2 separate regions of the Homo sapiens genome follow, and region 1 is linked to region 2. Evidence: promoter capture Hi-C in 16 types of primary human blood cells and fetal thymus (Javierre and others, 2016). All regions are on one chromosome and are shown on one strand. Each heading gives the region's core, a stretch centred on a gene start or on the middle of the fragment in contact. The rest is flanking DNA. Distances are from core to core; before and after follow the strand shown.

Evidence for each region. The method cuts DNA at HindIII sites, captures the fragments that hold promoters and counts their contacts. A CHiCAGO score of 5 or more calls a contact.
Region 1: the fragment with the promoter of B3GNT7 here is called in contact with the fragment with the promoter of ARMC9 in region 2 in 12 of 17 cell types (endothelial precursors, total B cells, erythroblasts and 9 more); the score reaches 12.0 in endothelial precursors.

What each region holds. Positions count from the first base shown.
Region 1 is chr2:231,393,838-231,397,789 of GRCh38, reverse strand. It overlaps B3GNT7 (UDP-GlcNAc:betaGal beta-1,3-N-acetylglucosaminyltransferase 7), which reads right to left and starts at 2,080. Exons shown (of 2, transcript NM_145236.3): 1 at 1,976-2,080; 2 at 1-59. The coding sequence starts at 1,986. RefSeq lists enhancers at 469-538, 1-680, 2,949-2,998, 3,294-3,875, 3,876-3,952 and a silencer at 1,929-2,398. The HindIII fragment of the contact is 8,411 bases long and covers 1-2,665 here.
Region 2 is chr2:231,196,533-231,200,037 of GRCh38, reverse strand. It overlaps ARMC9 (armadillo repeat containing 9), which reads right to left and starts at 1,407. Exons shown (of 25, transcript NM_001352754.2): 1 at 1,340-1,407. RefSeq lists a silencer at 1,262-1,601. The HindIII fragment of the contact is 12,461 bases long and covers 1-3,505 here.

The sequences.
Region 1 (3,952 bases), core at 831-3,330, 200 kb before region 2:
CCGTCACGGCCACGAGCAGGGCCAGGGCCAGGCACAGACTCCGGTAGACGGTTTTCTTCCTGTGGGGGAGAGCGGACAGTACAGAGGAGAGAGAAAAGATGAGCCCAGGGCTCTCCTGGCGCCCCCCTTGGGAGGCTGGGTGGTCCCAGACGGGCAAGTGGACCTGGGCACAGGCTCAGTCCCGGAGTCCCTAAGCTGTCAGGGTAGGGTCCCGCTTCCTCTCCCACCCTGCCCTTTCTTTCTCCCACCCTGCCCTCTCCTCAAGGAGCACTGTGGAATCAGGCCCTGACGCTTACAAGCTGAATGAGTGGTTTACAACCACTCTGAGCCACGATTTCTTCTTCCCCCAAATGGGGCTAAAACACAGGATTGGAGTGCTATATAAAGTACCAGGCAGCGGGTGCACAGTTAGGGGAATGCTGTCACCTTAACAGGAGGGCCTCAGGTGGAAACCTCTGCCCTGTTCCCCACGCCTGGAACCCCAATGCCTTTCATTTCCCTGCGGTGTACCTACCCACAGCAGTAGGTATCGGTATCATTAGGTGACTCAGAGCCAGAGTCATTGAGAGGGCACCCTCTGATCCTCTGTGCCGCCCGGGAGCTCCATCACATGTGGGGCACATTGGAGAGTGGCTCGAGCTTGGGACCTGAGGAAGACTGGCCCTCCTCCCCCTTCTCCAGTCTGTCTCACCCAACAAAGAGCAGCCCTCATGGTTGATGGAGGCCCAAGGATGCAGTGAGCACCTCTAGCATGGCACTGCCCCTCACCCCTACCTTAACATCCCCAGCTCATAACACCCCATTAGAAGACATGAGGCTACAGCTCTACTCCCTGGGAGGGGGCACATTTGCAGCTCCAGCCCTTGAGGGACCCTTCTTGCCCAGAGACCCCCCCACCCCAACCCCGGTCCACACCCATTTCGGAAGCAGAAATTAGAGCTCTCTGCCAGGAGTGCTGGTCGTCCCAAGCCCTGGGGCCTGAGCCCCTGTCCTGAAGGACCTCCTCTCTTCATCTCACCCTCCGGGGGCTGCCAGGACACCTGCCCCACCCTCCCCAGTGGAGACCTGGGGGCTGAGAGCTCTGGGGACAGCAGAGTGGCCTTCCAGGGCCAGCCTAGCAGAGAGATGGCGCTGACCTCCAAGGGGGAGGAGCAGGGTGCCAGGAGAGACAGGCAGCCCGTGGAGACGCCTGGGTTGCCCTGAGGGCTGGTCCGGTTGCAGGTCCAGGCCCCAGGGTGAATGCAGGCTGAGCCCCATAGAGCGACATTTTCCCCATAGGGTCCCCAGGTTGCTGGGGCATGTGGTTGGAGGAAGACAGGGGCACCTTAGGTGCAGGCTGGGGGGTGTGACCCAAGGTCCAGCTCTCCGGGGAGGAAACGGAGGGCTCCGGATCCGGCCCTGCCAGCCCTAGGGGTTCCAGGGAAGCCGCCCACCGAGGCCGGGACGGGGGAGGTCGGGGGGTGCACCGGGAAGGCGGCGAGGCCCTGGGCTGCGGGCGCTCCACCTGCCGGGTCCGCTCCATTCGTAGGGAAAGCCCGGGAGGGGCGGAGAGGGGCCGGGCGGGCGGCGGTCCGAGGTCCCGCGGAAGGAAGCCCCGAGAGGAGGAGAGTGGCCCGGACGCAGGGGGCCCTCAGGGGTCTGGAAGGGAGAGGGGACCCAGCTGCCGGCAAGACCTGGGGTCCCAGCCGCCAGGGTCCTGGAGCGGTGTCCAGGGCCGCGGGGCCGGGGAGCTGAGCGCGGCGCCCCGAGACCCCTCGACGTCCCCCACGGGTCCGGGGCCGCGTACCGCGAACATCTCCCGCCGCCGCCGCCGCGCCCGCCCGCCCATCCGCCCCCGGGAAACTGAGGCCGGCGCGGCGCGCGCGGGGGCATCTCCTATCCCGGGAGTCCCGGCGCCCGTCTGTGGCCACGGAGGAGGGGGAGCCCCGGGCCCACGCCCCCGCCCAGGCCCCCGACGGCCCCCAGCCCCACTCACCACAGCGACATGGCGGCCCGGGCCGGAGCGGCGGAGGGGCGAGCGGCTCGCAGCTCTGGGCGCCACGGCTCGGGCCGGCGGGACGGCGGGCGGGTGGGGACGGAGACCGGGCCGCGCCCCCGCCGCGACTTTCCTCTTCCCGGCCGCGGGAGGAGGGGCCGGCAGGGGCGGTGGCCCAGGTGCCTTAACCCCTTCGGCGCCCAGGGCCCGCCCCGCCGCCGCCTGGCGGGGACCACCCCATTTCTCCGAGACGGCCCCTAGGCTCCCCAAGCGCGCCTAGTAGACAGTGCATGGCCGAGGCGGGGCTTCGGAACCCACGGGGGTCACCTCCAATCCCGGGGACGCCTGTCCCTGGCGGAGCCTCCCGGGGCGGGGGGAGGGCGGTCGCCGGTCCCTCCTGTACTTGTGCGAAACCTGAACACCCGGTCCCCTCCAAGACCCTGGGGCACCCCAAGGCCCAGCCATTTCCCTCTGGCCCCATTCGGACTTGTCTTTGGGGCCAGAGGCAGACAGGGTGTCCTTTTCTCCCTCTGCTACCTTCTGCCCCTGCACCTTTCCCCTGACCAGACGGACCCCTTGCCCAGCTGTTGGGCTACCTAGGGCCAGGAGCAAAGCCAGCCACTAGGGAAAGAGGCCGTATGAGACTGGGCTCCATGTCAGGACTCGCCCAGGCCTGTGGCTCTGGAAGCTTTTTTTGTGCCCCCACCATGTCCCTCTCTTCACCTCTGGGGTTCCTCCCACCTCTGAGGGCTCCCCACCACCAAGGGAAGGCCTGTTGGCCCAGCCCTATCTCCTTTCTTTTTTCACTTATCACTCAAAACCCTTTTTGTCCTCAAGCCTTTATTAGTCTGCTTGTGCACATCAGGCCTAGCGGCTCTGGGGAGTGGGCTGACAGAGAACACGGAGAGGGCTTGGTCCAGCCAGGTGACTTCCAGAATCCTCCAGCAGGGAGAGCCATCGCTGGTCCTGTTGTTGCTCAGGTTGTTCTGGTCTTGTTCCGGGTTGAGGTTTCGGTGCTTAGCATCCAGCAGGACCTCCAAAAGGCCCACAGAATTGAAACGGAAGCACGTTGTGGTCCAATCATAACAGCTAACGTCCACTGAGCAGCTACAATATGCCAAACCTGGTTCTCGGCCCATGCATGACTGGCTCACTTAATCCTAGAGACATACGCTATTATTCCCACCTTACAGGGGAGGAAACGGGGGTGCAGAGGGGAACTCCCAGCCAGCTCAGAGAACAGCGAGCCCAGAGTTAGTAAGCACATCCAGGAGGCCTGCATGGCCTGAAGGCTGGCTCTGAACCCTTCCTGCCTGGTCTGAAGGCTGGCTCTGAGCCCTTCCTCAACCTTTTTTCCTTTCCCAGGGACAGCAGTGACATGGAGCTACTTTCCTGCCCAGCACACAGGGAGGCTAGGAGTCCTCAGCTGGATCTTAAGCCCTCGAGGCCAGGGTGAGGAGCCCCTTCTGCCCTATCCTTAAGGTTCAAGGGCCCTTTGGAGGGGGAGGAGAAACTTAAGGTACCATAGAATGTTCTGGAATGTTGTAAGTGCCAATTAGGGAATGTGAAGGGCCTTTCAGGCAGAATTTCAGAGGAGTATCTTGGGGCTGATGTCCTTTGTAATGGCCCTCCAAAAGTTCCAGAGCAGGGGAGGGGCTGACCTGCAGCCCAAAGCCCCTGTTGGCCTGGCTGCCTGCCACTGAGGGCCACCCGCAGATTCTGCAGCTCCACGGCTCCCTTCATCCCAGTGTAGCCTTGGCCACCGGTTCCCGCAGGGCACCAAGCATTTTGCTCCACTGCCCAGCCTTCCGAGTTCCCCACTTCACCCTGCAAGTGTGGCCCTGGCTTCCCTGGCTCCACACAGGTGCCCTGCTGAGAGCTGCCTCCCTGGCTTCAGCACTGACCTCTCACCCGGTGCTGTGGGGTCTCCTCCTCCTGCTGAGGGGTGGACACAGCCGTCCCTGGGAAGGGGGTTTT
Region 2 (3,505 bases), core at 158-2,657:
GGGTATCCTATTACTCAACATTCTTAGAAATTACAGAATTGGCCAGGCACAGTGGCTCACACCTGTAATCCCAACACTTTGGGAGGCTGAGGCAGGCGGATCACCTGAGGTCAGGAGTTCGAGACCAGCCTGATCAACATGGTGGAACCCCATCTCTACTAAAAATACAAAAATTAGCCGGGCGTGGTGGCGTCTGCACCTGTAATCCCAGCTACCAGGGAGGCTGAGGCAAGAGAATCGCTTGAACCCAGGAGGTGGAGGTTGCAGTGAGCCGAGATCATGCCACTCCACTCCAGCCTGAGCGACAGGGAAAGACTCCGTCTCAAAAAAAGGAAAAGAAAAAGAAATTACAGAATTTTCTCTAAACTTTTATATCATAATAGGTATCATTTATTGAAGGTATATGGTATGCCAGGCAATGTGCAAAATGTTTTACATTTAACCTTCATAGTAAACCTGACAGGTGAATATAGTTTATATTTTCCCATTCCAGATGAGGCAATTTGAGGCCCAGGAAGTCTGACACACTCCCAACAGCCACAGTAAGTGACTAAGCGGCTGAAAAGAACCACTACACAGTATTTCCCAAAGTCTGGACCACCTAAATCAGAATCAGCTGGCACGCTTGTGCAAATGAAAATTCCTGCCTCCACCCTGGTCTTACTGAACACCGTGGCAGGCACCATGCCCAGAAATCTGCCTTTTAAACAAGCTCCCTGAGTGACTTTTACACACTCTCAAGTTTGAGAACCAGTGCTCTCCTTTATGCGGAAACTAAGAAAAACTTTTCCAGTTACATTTGGGGATTGCAGCGGCAGCTTTTGAATTCCTATATAAGAAAGATTTAGGGCCCACAAACGGGTGGGATTATGGGATTTGTATGGAAGCCGAATCTGCATAGCACGCATCCTGTTTTTCCTAAGATTAGGTGAAGTCTGGACTTCAACTGGGTGCCTCAGGAACGCGGCTAGCAGATGGAGATTATCAGGGGGATCTAAATCCCGGATAACCCGCTCGCGCCGCCACCACCAGCTGGATGGCTTGAGGGACCCCCTCCAAGTATGGCCCACTGCAGCAAAGATCAGGGACTACTTGCGGGAAGCAGCTGGGCCTGTCCTTTCTTGGGATGTCCAGGCGGCCGCCTCGGCCCTTGCCGAAGAAAGATCCCTGGACCGCAGGCGAGAAGTGGTAGCATCCGGCGGCGGCGGAGCGGGCGCGTCGGGTTTTTCCTCGGAACAAGAGGTCCGCAGAGCCTCGGCCCTCCAAACGCACCGCTGCTCCTCCCAGCACCAGGACGGCGGGCGGAGGGTGGCCCGGCTGCATCCGGGGACGCGCTTACCTGCTGCTCGGCCGCGGACACTCGCGCTATCCCAGCCCGGCCGCCACCTCCGCAGCCGTCACCCGGGCAACCGCCGCCGCCACCCCGGCGTCACGTGGGGGCGGCGCAGCCAATCGCGCGGGGCGCCGCCGACGCGGAGCAGCCTGGGAGGGAAGGTGGGCGACCCCGAAACTTCCTGGCGGCGGAAGTGAGGGTCCACAGCCCAGCAGTGGTGAAGGTTCACGCGCTGGATGACCGCGTCTTCTGTGGTCCTCTCCACCACTCCACTTTCGTTCGTTCATTCATTCGTTCATTTCCCTTTCGTTGCGCCAGTCGCTGCGCCGGCTCTCGGGATGAGCCGGAGCAGGCTCAACCCCTTGTCTCAAGGAGCTCGTGGTCGCGTAGAGAACACAAACTAGGACAGTGTGGTGTCCGTGGGGAAAGAGTCAGGCATGGTTATTCCCATCTTAAAGGAGGGACCTGGGGCCACCTTAGAACCAAAAGTGACGCCCAAGATGTGCATTAAAGCTCCGGGGACCAGGGTCCCGCCCCACTGCAGCGGTTTCCAAGGATTTCAGAGAAACTTTTTGTTTTCCATGTCAAATGTGGGCTATTAAAAATAAATCAGGAGCACACGTCTTCCCTCTCTTTGCACCTGATGCTTTTGAACTGAAGTTCATCAGCACTGAATGAGCACTTGCTAGTCACCCAACTTTGTGCTGGAGGGTGAAGAGATGGCCATGGATAGAAAATCCCTCCCCTCCAGGCGTTGAGATTCCGTGGGAGTCTCTCGTTGCCACCTCAGTGTTTCCACCTCCATGCTTCCAAGAAGGAGGAGGCTACCAGGGCCAGAGACAGGGAATGGGGCACGGAGAAGGTAGGTCAGCTCGCCTTTGAAGAAGCCCTAAGATGGGCTGTGGCCACCACTTCCCCAGTCCCCAACCCTGCCAGTGGATTGTCTTCCAAAAGAAAAAAAGCTGTATTTAGTAGAAGAGAGCCCTATCTTCTGTCCAGGTAATATGGATTGAAAATAAATCTTCAATCCATGGCCATAATATTTATCGTCAACACAACTGTATGCCGGGAGATGCCAGACAAAATATAGAACACACAGTTAAATGTAAATTTTAGATAATGTTTTAGTGTAAGTAAATCCCAAAAACTGCTTCATTTTATTGTGCATGTAGGATGTTATATTGTTCTGTATTTTTGTTTGCAAAACGTGCAGCCTATATGTGTGCCCAGCATTGTGCTAAGTGAATCATATAGATTGTTTTCTTTAGTTCTCACACCAGGCCCGGCACGGTGGCTCACACCTGTAATCCCAGCACTTGGGAGGCCAAGGCAGATGGATCACCTAAGGTCACAAGTTTCAGACCAGCCTGGCCAACATGGTGAAACCTGTCTCTACTAAAAATACAAAAATTAGCTGGGCGTATTGGCATGTGCCTGTAGTCCCAGCCACTCGGGAAGCTGAGGCAGGAGAATCCTTGAACCCGGAAGATGGAGGTTTCAGTGAGCCGAGATCACGCCACTGTACTCCAGCCTGGGCAACAGAGTGAGACTCTGTCTCAAAAAAAAAAAAGTTTTTAATTCTCACACCACATCTATGAGATGAATAATATTTTCAGCATTTTACTGATTGACAATGTTGTAATTAACCTGAGCTGTGTGCTCTTAGAAAACAGCCACAGTTAAGAAATCTCACCCACGCACCCCCAAACCTTTTGTTTTCTAAAATCCTCCACACTTTTGTGTTCTGGGAAGTAGCTTATCAGAAAGAACTACCCTTCCACATATGACTTCATCAGACCCACAGTCCTGTCTTTCTCATGCCTCCCATATGATGCACGGATGACCCCCTTGTTTACCTGTGACAAGGACAAATGCAGACCTTTTCCCTTCTGCCTGAGTCTGCCGGCAAGGCCAAGGACAGACTTTTCAGCTTCTCATTCTTTGTCTCATGGTTGATTAGCTGAGATTAGAGCTGTCTGTTTTGTCTTTGGCAAGATGAACAACATGAGGCATACGGGATTAAGAAACTCCTCAAAGTTTACACCACTGAGGAGACCAGGACTAAACCCAGGTCTCCGTGTCTCTGGACCCTGGGCTCTGAGCTGCCGTGAACACCCCACCTGCTTTGCTTTCCCTCCTGAGTGCATTTGCCTGACTGCCGGGATTATGGTC